Regions from separate parts of the Homo sapiens genome. Here all the other regions are linked to region 2. Evidence: promoter capture Hi-C in 16 types of primary human blood cells and fetal thymus (Javierre and others, 2016). All regions are on one chromosome and are shown on one strand. The core of a region is centred on a gene start or on the middle of the fragment in contact, and the rest is flanking DNA. Distances in the headings are between cores, read along the strand shown.

Evidence for each region. The method cuts DNA at HindIII sites, captures the fragments that hold promoters and counts their contacts. A CHiCAGO score of 5 or more calls a contact.
Region 1: a contact is called between a fragment that was not itself captured here and the fragment with the promoter of TMX3 in region 2, in 1 of 17 cell types (activated CD4 T cells). The highest score is 5.7, in activated CD4 T cells.
Region 3: a contact is called between a fragment that was not itself captured here and the fragment with the promoter of TMX3 in region 2, in 1 of 17 cell types (naive B cells). The highest score is 5.9, in naive B cells.

What each region holds. Positions count from the first base shown.
Region 1 is chr18:69,898,274-69,901,284 of GRCh38, reverse strand. The region is part of intron 2 of CD226 (CD226 molecule); the gene reads left to right. Among named protein-coding and RNA genes, the nearest start is that of CD226, 48 kb to the left of the region's middle. The HindIII fragment of the contact is 3,508 bases long and covers 1-3,011 here.
Region 2 is chr18:68,713,762-68,716,481 of GRCh38, reverse strand. TMX3 (thioredoxin related transmembrane protein 3) reads left to right here and starts at 1,374. Exons shown (of 16, transcript NM_019022.5): 1 at 1,374-1,546; 2 at 2,582-2,636. The coding sequence starts at 1,501. It also overlaps a transcript of CCDC102B not described here. RefSeq lists an enhancer at 1,047-1,116 and silencers at 1,317-1,446, 1,627-1,726. The HindIII fragment of the contact is 941 bases long and covers 894-1,834 here.
Region 3 is chr18:67,598,945-67,601,942 of GRCh38, reverse strand. The region is part of intron 1 of DSEL-AS1 (DSEL antisense RNA 1); the gene reads right to left. All of the region lies in intron 1 of LOC105372174 (a long non-coding RNA gene), which reads left to right. Among named protein-coding and RNA genes, the nearest start is that of DSEL, 84 kb to the right of the region's middle. The HindIII fragment of the contact is 2,932 bases long and covers 1-2,826 here.

The DNA.
Region 1 (3,011 bases), core at 213-2,712, 1.2 Mb before region 2:
AAGTGTCTACTTTGCATTTCTCCAGTTCTATGAATTTTTCCTTTTTAAGTTCCACACATTGTTACTGTGTAATACCTCCCTTTAACCTGTAGGTTGATTCCTCTCCACCTTTCATTTTTTTGTTGTTGTTGTCACCTTGAGTTTTTCATATTCCCGTGGGCTGCTTTCCCATGGTGGCATTTGATACGTTTCTCTGCTCTTTGCAGTTCTGTAAGTTGGTGGTTAGATTTGGAGGCTTGATTAGCATCAGGTTTGATTATTTTGACAAGGCTATGACTTCCAAGGTGGTACTGTGGAAACATAAATGGCATTTGTGAATTTGCAGACACTGAGGATTGTTGCCTAGAACTCTCAATTCGTTTAGGCATGACTAATACTATTTTAAATATATTTCTTAATATTAGGGTTATTATAGATGTAAATCTCCCCCAAAATCAATAAAAATACATGCACATTGAGTGCAAATGAATTGCAAATTAATTTTTTCAAGTGTTTAAAGTCAGAAATACAGTTTTATTTTATTAGAAATTTTTTTTTTTTTTTTTTGAGACGGAGTCTCGCTCTGTCGCCCAGGCCGGACTGCGGACTGCAGTGGCGCAATCTCGGCTCACTGCAAGCTCCGCCTCCCGGGTTCACGCCATTCTCCTGCCTCAGCCTCCCGAGTAGCTGGGACTACAGGCGCCCGCCACCGCGCCCGGCTAATTTTTTGTATTTTTAGTAGAGACGGGGTTTCACCTTGTTAGCCAGGATGGTCTCGATCTCCTGACCTCGTGATCCGCCCGCCTCGGCCTCGCAAAGTGCTGGGATTACAGGCGTGAGCCACCGCGCCCGGCCAGAAAAATTTTTAAAAAAACTTTTAGGTTTGTGGGTACATGTGAAGGTTTGTTGCATAGGTAAATATGTGTCACAGGGGTTCATTGTACATATTATTTCATCACCAGTTATTAAGCTCAGTAACTAAGAGTTCTCTTTTCTGCTTCTCTCCCTCCTCCCACCCTCCGCTCTCAACTAGACCCAGTGTCTGTTGTTTCCTTCTTTATGTTCCTAACTTCTTATCCTTTAGCTCCCATTTGAAAGTGAGAACATGTGGTATTTGGTTTTCAATTCCTGCATTAGTTTACTGAGGATAATAGCCTCCAGCTGCATCCATGTTCCCACAAAACATATGATCTCATTCTTTTTTATGGCTGCATAGTATTCCATGATGAATATGTAACACATTTTCTTTATCCCATCTGTCACTGATGGACGTTTAGGTTGATTTCATGTCTTTGCTATTGTGATTAGTGCTGCAGTGAACATTCATGTACATATGTGTCTTTATAGTGGGATGATTTATATTCCTCTGGGTATATGCCCAGGAATGGGATTGCTGGGTCAAATGGTAGTTCTGCTTTTATCTCTTTGAGGAATTGCCATACTGCTTTCCACAATGGTTGAATTAATTTACACTCCCACCAACAGTGTATAAGTGTTCCCTTTTCTCTGCAACCTCACCAGCATCTGTAATGTTTTGCCTTTTTAGTAATAGCCATTCTGACTGGTATGAGATGGTGTCTCATTGTCATTTTGGTTTGCCTTTCTGTAATGATGAGTGATATTGAGCTTTTTGTCATATGCTTGTTGGCCACGTATATGTCTTCTTTTGAGAAGTGTCTGTTTGTGTCCTTTACCCACTTTTTAATGGGGTCGTTTTCCTCTTGTAAATTTGCTTAACTTCCTTATAGATGCTGGATATTAGACCTTTGTCAGATGCATAGTTTGCAAATATTTCCTCCCATTCTTTAGGTTGGCAAATTTTTTATCCAAAAAATATTGATTGACTTCTCTACTTTATGCCAAGCATGGTTCTAGGTGCTAAGTACAGAGCAGTGTAAAATGGTCTAGCTATACAGAGGCTTGGGTTTACGAAGCTGACAGTAAAATGACTCAGGGTTTTGTGAAGTGGGTGAAGGATTTTGCAGAGCTGCTCAAACTGCATATGCAGAACTGTTGACCAGTGAGGATGGTGAGGAGGACAGGTCAGTAGCCAGGGAGGCGCTAGTGGGCAGGGGCAGTGGCATGATGTGAAGATGTACCCAGCAATGTTTGGGGTACCCAGGACATGAGCAGTGGTTGGAAAAGTGATGAAGCACTGAAATAATTTCCAAGGATGATTTGTGGTCAAGCCAGAGAAGCCACATACAAAATAGAGAATATTTAATCATGATATCCTGCAATAAAAATCATGGGAAAACAACACAGTCTATTCAATGTTTATTCTAAGTATTAATACGTAGCTACATATAAGTATAAGCTGGTTTTCATTATTTGTATTTGTTTTATTGAAATCAAATTTTTTTCTTCCCAATTAACTACGACATTTTGGTCTGTTTCACGTGAATCCACTTTCCAATTCCAAGTTCATCAGGATCCCACGGTTCTCTTGTTTGTGTGGGCTCTTTCTGGCAGTTCTTTTCAAGGTCATTTTGAGCTGCCTTCCACTGAGCTTTGCAGGAAGAGCCTGTGGTCTGAGAAGCCACAAGCAATATCTGAGGCAAGGCAGGTTTGGCCGACCTCGTAATAGGTCTTGATTTTCATCTAACACCAATCAGTTACTCTGTTTGTCAGGAAAGGTTAATCAGGGGCTACTCTGAGCTTCTGAACCACCTGGCTCTAGGGTTGGGAACCACTTCTTTCACCTCCAGGCTGAGTCTATTGAGAGGCGGGTCTAGGTCCTCACATGGAGCCTCTGCTGTAACCTCCCTGCACTTTGCTCCCCAAAGACAGCTGCATCCCCTCTAGGATTTTCCCCATTGCTTCCTGCATTGTCCTTTGTGAAAATGCAGACACGGCTATGAGTAGACCCCTGTTTCTACCTGAGTCGGCAGGTTCACGGGGGCCTGACAGCATGGTTTTGGTTAGATAGGCAGACAAAGGAAACTCCTGAGATTGGACGGGGCGGCATCCAGAGAGAAGAAGAAGAAAAACACAAAACAGTTGTGCGTGTGAGCACTGAGGACACGCATTCA
Region 2 (2,720 bases), core at 125-2,624:
ACATTTCAAAAGCTCAATAGCCACATGTGGTTAGTGGCTACACTACTGAAAAGCACAGATCTAGGTCAACTGGCTTTTGTTGTTGTCCACATGTGAACTTAAACTGTAACGCAAATATAAGAGGAAATTATTTCACTTTGCATGCTGTGGAAGACAGAAAACTTTGAAATACATGAGAATGAAAAAAAAAAATTGAATATGGGTCATTCAGAGACCTTGCCAAGAAAGTAGAAAAGCTTCTGTATAAGAGTATCGAGGCGATGGTACTATTATAAAGCTGTTCCACCACCACCGGGAGAACATTCCCATCATTTCAACAGTCCCCTTACGTTTTAGTCTACTTTTTTCTTAAAAAAAAAAGAAAAAAAGGAAAAGAGAAAGAAAAAGAAAAATTGAATCTGTAGAGGGCTTGCGCTGGATACCATGCTGCATGCACAAAGGGGGTGACATTTAGGGCTTGCTCTCAATTAGAGTGCAATTTAATCTTCTAGTCACTAGGAATAACGACGTTTTATGACATTTTTGCCTGTTGGAATTTTGAACCTAAGGTGAACCGGCTGACATCATATCCCCCTTCTGTTGTTGTCACAGGTTTTCAAAATTTGGTTTGATCTAAATTCTCTGGTACCTTATGTCCCATAAAAATTTCATCTAGTTCGTAAGTAGTGATTGCTGCAGTAACCGTCTTATAAAAGTATATGGTTTTTACAAATCATTGTCGTATAGAAGAAAAAACAGGTAGCAATATAAATATTTCATACTACTTTATCTAGTTCCAAAATAATCAGAAAAGAGCCATCAAAAAATATCCTACGCTTAACTTCATGTTCTCAAGTTTCAAGAGAAAGTTTTTAAAGAGGCAATCCTTACTTTGGCAAAAATGCATTAAAGCTTGCTGCATTTAAGAGATGTCCCATTATGCAAACAGGTTGAAAGAATATTACAAATACGTTTTGGAAAAATACGGAGTGTCGCGCAGCTCAGCAATCCGCAGTCTTAATGCGCGCCTCTTTCCAGGAATTTGATCCAGCATCAAAACCCACAGGTGCACTCACCACACGGGAGTAACAAGTAAATGATGTGCCAGTATTCAACCTGCAAGTGCGTCGTCAGAGCCTACCTCACCCTCAGCATAACTTTCACCGGTATTCACCTTCCCGGAAACGCGCCCCAGTGAACCAGCACCGTTTTCCCTAGTAAAGCCCTTAAGCAGGGTTCCCACGCTCCTGGGCGTGGAGGGGGGCACCGAGAGCGCAAAGGATTCTTAAGACATGACTGCGCAGGCGCTGTCGCATGCGCCGCACTCCCCTCGCATGCGCCGCACTCCCGCGCATAGCCGGAGACGGAGACTGGCCGGGTAGCCCCGCCCCCGTAGTTAGCGCGGTGCTTCTCTTCCGCTCCGGGTCGGCTCCGTTTCCCTTTCCGGGCGGGCAGGCGGCGGACCCCAGTGTCTTTATCCCTCTTTTGCACAGTCAGCTTCTGCAGCTCTCCCGGGCTAGCATGGCAGCGTGGAAGAGTTGGACGGCCCTGCGGCTCTGCGCCACAGGTAATGGGGGCTCAGCGGTCGGGACGCTGGCGGGCGCGTGGGACCTGGCCCCGCCGTGGGGCCGGGATTGGACCCGGGTCTGGGGCGAGGCCTGCGGGGTTCGTGGAGATGCCCACCCATTCCCGGCAGCGTCCTGCCGCCCCCGCCGCGCCACCCTGCCTGGCCCTGACGGAGCGGACACCTTGGGGTCCTTCCGCCGCCGCTGTGCCGGACCAATGCTGGACGTGGGAAGGGCGCGCTGCCTTGTGTTTGTGTTTTTCTCATTGTGGCAGAAGTTTCAATAAAGCTTACTCCTTTGATGGGCAAGAAGGATGCCGCCGTCCCAGCTTAACGACCAAATCTTGCCTTGGCTTTAGGTTCCGAGTCTTGTCACGTTTAAGGATTTTTACCACCAGTACTCAAGAGAGGGTGGTCGAGGACAGATCAGGGTCAGGCCGCCGGGATTGTGCGGTGTGAAAAGGACCTGAGTGTGTGTCAGCGGTTCTCAGCTGCCTCCCGTCAGCATGGAGTGCCCTCATTCTCACTGGGGTCCGCTCACTTAACAACCTTTTAGAGCCCACTCTGTGTCAGGCACTGCCGTGTAATAAGTATTAGAGTTGCAGCTCGACTTTCTTCCTACGTATCTATTTGAGGGGAAATATTTTGAATGGCATTTGGAGTTTTTACGGAAGAGGTAATTGCTACTAAAGCAAAAGAAATAAAGAAGAATGCTGTCTATTTGTATTCCAAAAAGATAGGATGGTTAAAAAGAGACGTAAGATGAGAGTGAAAATATGGAGGAAAAAGGAACTGTGTGTATTAGATTTATTGGCTTACCTAGAACTTGGCCGGTCACGATATGGTTGCATACAGACTAAATATTTATTAAATGGATGAACTACCTTTGCTTTTGCATCATTTGCACCCTGGGATGCATCAGTGATGAATTTTTTGGTAGGTTGTGAAAGGTCAAAAACACTTCAGAGATGACTAAGCTTATACGGTATGAGCCAAATAATCAGCATTTATTGTGTACATTTTGTCTTTTTTTTTCAGTTGTTGTACTTGATATGGTCGTCTGTAAAGGATTTGTAGAAGATTTAGATGAATCGTGAGTATACATATATATATTTAAAATATTATTTTAACTGTCCAACTCAGATATCTGAATATTTGCATGTGATTCTAATATTTT
Region 3 (2,998 bases), core at 111-2,610, 1.1 Mb after region 2:
ACTATCTTAGCTAGATGTTCTGGAAAACTTGCTGCAGCTTCTACATCATCACTTGCTGCTTCACTTTGTACTTTTATGTTATAGAGAAAACTTCTTCCCTAAAATCTCATGAACCAACCTCTTCTGGGTTCCAACTTTTCTTCTGCAGCTTCCTCACCTTTTTCAGCCTTCATAAAATTGAAGAGAGTTAGGGTTATTCTCTTGATTAGTATTTGACTTAAGAGAATTTTTTGGCTCAATGGATCTTCAAACCAGACGACTAAAATTTTCTCCATCAGCAATAAGCCTGTTTTGCTTTCTTATCATTTGTGTGATCACTGGAGTAGCACTTTTAATTTCCTTTAAGAACGTCTCCTTCACATTTTCAACTTGCCTACCTGTTTCATACAAGAGGCCCACCTCTTGGCCTATCTCCACTTTTGACATGACTTTTGCAGTAAGTTTCATCATTTCTAGTTTTAAAGTCAAAGACATGTAACTCCTCCTGTCACTTGAATACCTACAGGCTATTGTAGGGTTATTAGTCTGCCTAATTTTGATATTGCTGTACCTTAGGCAACAGGGAGGCCTGAGGAGAGGAAGATGAGGAAACAGCTGGTTGATGAAGCAATCAGAACACACACACATTTATCAAGTTCCCTGTCTTATATAGGTAGAGTTCATGATGCTCTCAAAACAATTGCAATAGTAACATCAAAGATCACTATTCACAGATCACCATAACAGATACAGTATTAATGAAACAGTTTGGAATATCATACAAATTAGTAAAATGTGACACAGAGACACCAAGCGAGCACATGCTGCTGAAAAAAATGGCACCAATATACTTGCTCAAAGCAGGGTTGCCACAGACCTTCAATTTGTAAAGAATACAATATCTGAGAAGCACAGTAAAATGAGGTATGCCTGTATTTAGGGTAAGAAATTACTGAAAAAAAAAAGGGCTCATTTTTCTTGGAAATTATTACTCATCAAAAATTGCTTGGAGGAGAACATTAAAGGTTATGTGAGCACTGGATTTCTTTTAAACCTCAGAGATACATGGCTTAGCTACTGTTATAAAAACATTTAGGGAAGTAAAAGGATAATTTTCCAATTCATCAAGAATAAAAAGGCTTTTTGTCACTGACTACTTTTGAAAATTTTGGCTACCCTTCTTTTTTTTACTGGAGGAATAAAAACAAGGAAAAATGATGTTTATGGCTTTTCCAGAATTTTAGAGTAGTTTCTTCCATAGCTGAGATCATTCTCTAATGGTATTTCCATTCAGAAAAACCCACAAACATTTTGTCTGTCTCTTTCTCCCTATGAATTTTAATGGAAAACAGTGTCAAAATAAAAAGAAGCTCATACGTAAGCTGTTTTGAGATTGCCATGAGTTAAATTTCATGGTGTTTTCAGTAAGCCTTCGCAACTGCTCTTTGAATTTGCCCTAAAGGACACTAAAGTTTCATTAATTATTAATGACTTTTAGGGAGGGGAGTGTAAAAATAAATCTCTTTTCCACTAAGTACATTACAACTGACATACCGCACACAGCCACACATGCCTGACTAATACCCACATCTGGCTTCTGAATCAAGAGATAGGACTCTGTGTGGAATGCTGCAGGGCGAGTGAAAGGGTCGTCTGTGCTCCTGTCACACTATACGTCCTCCTCTTTCAAGGGTTTCTATTACACCCTAATGCTGTCATTGAAATAAAAATAACTTCAATACTTGTTTATGTCACAACTGCACTACTCAGTTCTAAGGCTTTTCAGATCCCAAACTACTGCAATCAACTTTCCCATATTTATCACCATAGACCTGGTTGATTTAGTGGCAAAGACATCAATATTTTTACCCTAATTGTGTGAAATCCCGTAATCAAAACTATTTACATATGATATGCTTACTATTGATTTGTACACATTTTTATGCCTTATACTAAACAACGTAATTCATTTGGAAATGAAAAATAAAACATGTTGTGCCCATACTCAGCAAGTATACCCAAAGCACAGCAGTTAATACTATGGTCAGATAGAATCAAGACTGGCATGGGAGCTGGTTAACACACTTCCCACAGATTGTTGCAATGAAAACGAGGATCCCAAATCATATTCATTTTCCTGAAAATTTGTGGTTCTAATGGTGCCATGTAATTCTAAATATTACTTCATCACATTATTTACTTTCTATTATAAATACGAAATTAAATTTATTATCCTTTATAAATGCTACACATTCTGGCACATTTTAGAATTCAAGGATTTCTTTCATTTCAAGGTATTCAGAAAGTGACACCCACTCACGTCATACCAAAATGTAATGGGGACAGTTCCAGGTGCCAAGCCAGACAGCTGAGAACATTTGCACTGTGCTTCCAGCTGAAGGTGTTTAAGTGAAGCTCCTTATCAGTTGGAAAAGATTTGTGCCAGTGGTTAGATCTGGGAGCTCTGGAGACCAGATGTGGTTTTGTAGTCCACATTGAACTTGAGCTAAATATAGGCGATAAATATAAGTCAAGTACAGATTCCAATACAGATTTACAAATTAGAAGCCATGAGGGAACCAACAGCTACTGAAGATGACTCATCTGTTGGAATTTAACTTTCACTAAATACTCAGAATAAAATGAGGTGATATTCAGGAAGGAAATCTATGAGGCAAATAGATGAAGAATTTGCTTATTGCTAAATTTGTACTATAGGGGAAGTGAAAATGTGTTTTACAGATTTTTTCATGCAAAGATTTTCAATAGCAAAGCAATGTATTATAAGATAGTCTAGTTTCTAATTATTAAATATTAAGGTGTTTCTTTCAATAAAAGAAAGAAGCTTGTTTTTGTCAGAACATTTTGGTGTTTTAGAGCTAGAAGGAAGTCATAAGCTCCTGTGACCCAGCTCCATTATTCTACCTATTAAAAAGCTGGGGGTGGCCGGGCGCGGTGGCTCACGCCTGTAATCCCAGCACTTTGGGAGGCCGAGGCAGGTGGATCATGAGGTCAGGAG